Linked DNA regions of Homo sapiens: region 2 is linked to region 1. The links are contacts of gene promoters, found by promoter capture Hi-C in human tissues and cell types (Jung and others, 2019). All regions are on one chromosome and are shown on one strand. Each heading gives the region's core, a stretch centred on a gene start or on the middle of the fragment in contact. The rest is flanking DNA. Distances are from core to core; before and after follow the strand shown.

Region 1 (2,828 bases), core at 144-2,643:
AAAAAGAAAAGAAAAGAAACGACTGTCCTGTCGAGTCCAGAGACGTGATTTTCTATGTGTGAGAAAACATTTTAAATGGCTTTTTCAAGGCATGATAAATCTAAGCACCGGCAGCCAGCCTGCAAATGTAACAAACCACATGGCTCATCCACCTGGAAGATCACAATAAGTGAACAGGATGTAGAGGAGTCAGCCCATAAAAGGGAAGAAAGTTTCATTACTGGGAAATCCAAACTTAAGCGGGAAAGGGACCAGGGTATAACCTTCTAAGGGGATAATGCAACTTAGGCGACGTCCGGGAAGATCGTAACCCTGTAGTCCTTGACCAGTGAGGAACTGAGGTAGGGTCTTGCATGCTAGGAGATAAATCACCTGTTGTAACTGCCCTGGGTGTACCTGCCTACCAGACACGTGACCTTGCAAGAGGGCTATTAAAAGTCTCACTTTCACTGTTCTTTGTGCCTCTAAGTTCACTCTTTGGGTTTGGACGGGTGAGCATGTTTCTCGCACTACGAAAAAACTGATTTTTTTCTTTAAGACAGAGTCTTGCTGTGTCGCCAGGCTGGAGTGCAGTGGTGCCATCTCGGCTCACTGTAACCTCCACCTCTCAGGTTCAAACAATTCTCCTGCCTCAACCTCCTGAGTAGCTGGGACTACAGGCGCACGCCACCACAGCCAGCTACTTTTTGTATTTTTAGTAGCGACAGGGTTTCACCATGTTGGCCAGTATGGTCTTGATCTCTTGACCTCATGTTCTGCCCGCCCTGGCCTCTCAAAGTGCTGGGATTACAGGCATGAGCGACCGCACCCAGCCAACTTTGATATTTTTTAAAAGCTCCCAGATAACTCATATGTATTAGCCAGGGTTGGGAACTAATAGATCACACTAAATGGCTTTATTTAAGCAAAGAGTACAGACCCAAAACATCTCCCAAACTATTCCTATGCCGGAGAAAAACTGAACCCATAATGGGGAGAGGGAAGATTCTATTATAATAAAAACTAAAAAATAACTTAAGGTTAAAAGTTTTCTTACTTTAAAAGTAATAATTTTAACTTTGTATTTTAATGTATAAATTCCTCTGTTTTAGCTTTGATCATTGTTTCAGCTACACTTGAACTGGAGAGAAATCAGAAATAAAGGTGTAAGATGATAGCTTGAATATGTTTTTATGATAGAGTAGAAAACCCTAAAAACTGCTGACATTTGACATTCTATGATCAAGGAACAAAGTCTGGACGCTTGGTTCCAAACTGATGGATTGCCTTCACAGATCCAATTCTCGACAAATTCTAGAACAGTTCTAGAACTGAACTGAAAGAATCATCACAAAGAGACTGAAACTGACCAATTCCATAACAACATTTTCCCCTGAAGTCTTAAGTTTTTCTCATGGGGAATATAACCAGGAAAGGAAGCAGAGACCTGGTGGTTGACAGTGCCAAGTCCCTGGAAGATGGCCCATCTGCAGCACTTCACTCGAAACTCTATGAAGCCATCATGAGAGAAGACTGCACTACGATCGAGGTACTCCTGAGAAATCACCCTGTCAACCAGCCCATCACCATTCTGCCCAACTCCGCCAGCAACAGATTACTTCTGACCCAGGTACCCTCTTTTCTGCTCAGTCACTTCTGGAAAAAAGTCAGGCTGCTTAGAAAGAAGCATGATCTAAAGCTGGTGAACCCACTAAGCTCACGGCCCTTATGAGAATGAGACACGACTCCAGCTCACTCCACACACACTGCAGTGCTCCCCAAAGCCTGCAAAGCCTCCCCTACACATGTCACACACAAACCAACATGAGAAAACACCAGACCCTGTGTGACTGGAAGACCATTCATGTCATCTCTCAAACATACCCACAGTGATGATCTCCATGTGGTCAAATTAGTTTTTCCCTTTTTTGGCCAGACGCAGTAGCTCATGCCTGTAATCCCAGCACTTTGGAAGGCTGAGGTGGGTGGATCACCTGAGGTCAGGAGTTCGAGACCAGCCTGGCCAGCAGGGCAAAACCCCGTCTCTACTAAAAATACAAAAATTAGCCGGGCTTGGTGGCAGGAGCCTGTAATCTCAGCTACTCGGACGGCTGAGGCAGGAGAATTGCTTGAACCCAGGAGGCAGAGGTTGCAGTGAGCCAAGATCGTACCACTGCACTCTCTAGCCTGGATGACAGAGCAAGACTCCATCTCAAACAAACAAACAAAAAATAGTTTTTCCCTTTTTAATATATACATTTTCATTTTCTAAATTTTTATACAATGATTATTACTTTTACAATTAAATTCAAAAAGGAAGTCACCCTCCCTTGTACCCTACTGTCTTATCTTGCAGCCACGGTGTGAAACCACTACTTACACGTGTGTATTTTAAGAGCTGGCACAAACAGCTCTGCTAATCATAGACAGAACATATGCTGCGTTATATTTGAAAACCCTGAAGATTCAGGTTTTACTGCTGATAATACGACTTTGGCAACGACACAGCACCTACTTGTCCATCACCCTGTGGGTTAATTTAAGGAATAAGTGACTTCATAGCAAGTACCCTTAATATCACACCACAGGCTCTTCTGAAGAATCAACTTTCAAAAATTTCCAAAGCTTTTGAGTGTTATTTCTGTTGCCTCAGTAAATGTGCATTTCTGTGAAACACAGATTTTATAGGATGGAATTCACTGAATTTTGATCATTTAAAACAGGTAGTAGAAAGGAAACTTTCAATGCACATACCAGAAAAAGAGTGAGCCAATGAGACACTAAATAAATGTATTGCCTTTGAAACGGCAAGCTAACACAAACAGTATTTTTAACTACACAGGGCCACT
Region 2 (2,828 bases), core at 329-2,828, 120 kb before region 1:
ACCATGCCCGGCTAATTTTTGTATTTTCAGTACAGACAAGGTTTTACCATGTTGGCCAGGCTGGTCCTAAACCCCTGACCTCAGGTGATTCCCCTGCATAGGCCTCCCAAGGTGCCTCGATTACAGGTGTGAGCCACTGCACCTGGCCTAGCCCAGTTTCTTAATTAGGGGTGTGGCCATATGGTACTACTATAAGGTAAATTCAGCTAATAGAAAAGGCAAAACTAGTTCCCCTAAAATTTACCTTCCCTGCCAAAATCTTGTAGCTCCATTTTAAGAAGAGAAACAAGTTACTGTAAAGAAATTTGAATCCAGTTAATAAACAACTTGGTGGGTTTCCACATGAACTTTATCTCCTAGGAAGACAACAGAAATTTCGGGTGAAACCCATCTACTTTTTTTTTTGTTTTTGAGATGGAGTCGCTTTCTGTTGCCCAGGCTGGAGTGCAGTGGCATGATCTTGGCTTGCTGCAACCCCTGCCTCCTGGGTTCAAGCAATTCTCCTGCCTCAGCCTCCCGAGTAGCTGGGATTACAGGTGCATACCACAACACCCAGCTAATTTTTTTGTAGAGATGGGGTTTTACCATGTTGGCCAGGCTGGTCTCGAACTCCTGACCTCAAAGGATCCGCCCACCTTGGCCTCCCAGTGCTGGGATTACAGGTGTGAGCCACTGTGCCCCGCCTCCACCTACTTTCTAATTTGACAAATAGTTTATCAGGCAACCTTACACTGTACTGACTCAGCTATAGTTGCTTTCTGTGATATGTACACAATGTTACTAAAGTGAAATTCTGCTGTGAAATGTAGGAGATGGGAGGCTAGTTGTGCTTCTGTAGCATCAGGTCTGCAGAGGGATGGCTCCTCCACAGATGGAAATGACAGGACGTGCTTGCAAGTCACACGCAGCCACAGCGATAGGGAGATGTCATGTGACAAGCCAGAATCCAGCAGTAGTGGCCCATGGCCTTGCTTCCACCAAAAAGAGAAGGGTAGCTGAGATTCTGATCTCTGGGACAGAACACAAGCCCCGCCATGGGTGCAAACTCCTGAGAGTGAGGAAGAGGGAAGGCTTAGAGCAGAGGGTCTTCCAGGAGCTCATTCTGGGAGACCCTGGAGCCAGAGTGACCAGCAGGGTTGGCCCTTTGAAGCCTGGAGTCACAGGACAATCTGGCGCCCAGCTCTGGGGATCCTGTTGGCATCGTCATCTTGGAATAGCATCTGAGGGGTTGAGCAGGGCACAGCTCTGGTGGCTGCACAGAACTGTTCTGTTGTCACCTCCAGTGTGCTCGTGGGGAAAGGTCAGTCCCAGGAAGTAGCAACAAAAATAACCTTCAAGCAAAACAGGCGCCAATGCTTACACCTGTCATCCCAGCACTTTGGGAGGCTGAGGCAGGAGGATCACTTGAGACCAGGAGTTCAAGACCAGCCTGGGCAGCATAGTGAGACTGTATCTACAAAAAATGGAAAAAAAAAAAAATAGCTGGGCATTGTGGTGTGCACTTAGAGTCCCAACTACAGAGACTACAGAGGTTGAGGCTGGAGAATCACTTGAGCCTGGAAGTTTGAGGTTGCAGTGAGCTATGATAGCACCACTGTACTCCAGCCTGGGTGACAGAGCAAGACCCTGTCTAAGAAAAAGAAAAACAGCACGTTTTGACGGAATTGCTTATTCCAAAGCTGTTATATTAAATACCAAAAAGACTTTTAAGCCAGGCGTGGTGCACATACCTATAGTCCCAGCTACTGGGGAGGAGGAGGCAGAAGGATCGCTTGAGCCAGGAGTTACTTGGAGACCAGCCTGGACAATATAATGAGGCTCTGTCTCTACCAAAAAGTGGAAAAAAAAACTTGTCACAAGCAGAGTATATATTACCCTTATGTATTTACTTAGTATATTGCTTTGATTTTTTTTTTTTGAGACTGAGTCTCATTGGCTTGGTTGCCCAGGCTAGAGTGCAGTGATGTGATCTCAGCTCACTTCAACCTGCGCCTCCCAGGTTCAAGCGATTCTCATGCCTCAGTCTCCCAAGTAGCTGGGATTAGAGGTGTGTGCTATCAGGCCTAGCAAATTTTTATATTTTTTAGTAGAGACGGTGTTTCGCCATGTTGGCCAGGCTGGTGTTGAACCCCTGACCTTAGGTGATCTGCTCACCTTGGCTTCCCCAAGTGCTGGGATTACAGGTGTGAGCTTCCGCGCCCGACCACCTTCACGGTATTTCAGTGATCTTGAATAGAAAACGCCCAGATCCAGCCTCATTGTCTGTCTCCTTTTAAAAAACCGGTTCCAGAGTCTGATACCTGCTAGTTTCTCTGTGCTTTTTCCATGTGCTGCTCCTTCCTGCCTCATTTCAGATCAGGTGGTTTGCCTGAAAGCTTGTTTTTCTCCTCCTCCTCTTTCTTCACCGAAGATCCGGAGAATTAAAATCCATGTACATTTCTGAGACCTAGGATCACGTTCCCTGTCTACAGCATACCCATATTTTCCCAGGGGACTAGGGGAGAGAATGTGGCATTACCATATAACCCAGGAAGCTAAGAGACATCTGCTCCTAAAATGAAACAGTGTGGCTTTGGAGGTTTCCTGCATAATCCTACACGGAATTCAACCAGCGAGTCCAATCCCTTGTGACTTTTTTTTTTTTTTTATCTCAAATGGCATGTAAAATACAGGACTGTAGGAGTAGCCTTTTGCAGGTCAGGATAAAGTTCCAGTGCCTGGACTCAAGTTTAACCCTTTACCTTCCTTAACTTCGCAGTCAGGTGGTGAGCCTCTTGATATAATGTTAAAGAGAAAAGCACCAGTAGTCCCAGCTACTCAGGAGGCTG

What was found. Contacts are between HindIII fragments. The study calls those that stand out against the background at their distance.
Region 2: a contact is called between a fragment that was not itself captured here and the fragment with the promoter of ANKRD61 in region 1, in 2 of the 25 tissues and cell types used here (mesendoderm cells and spleen).

Annotation. Positions count from the first base shown.
Region 1 is chr7:6,029,983-6,032,810 of GRCh38, forward strand. ANKRD61 (ankyrin repeat domain 61) reads left to right here and starts at 1,394. Exons shown (of 3, transcript NM_001271700.2): 1 at 1,394-1,609. The coding sequence starts at 1,394. All of the region lies in intron 11 of EIF2AK1 (eukaryotic translation initiation factor 2 alpha kinase 1), which reads right to left. The HindIII fragment of the contact is 7,395 bases long and covers 1-2,828 here.
Region 2 is chr7:5,906,475-5,909,302 of GRCh38, forward strand. The region is part of intron 7 of CCZ1 (CCZ1 vacuolar protein trafficking and biogenesis associated); the gene reads left to right. Among named protein-coding and RNA genes, the nearest start is that of CCZ1, 9.2 kb to the left of the region's middle. The HindIII fragment of the contact is 4,548 bases long and covers 1-2,828 here.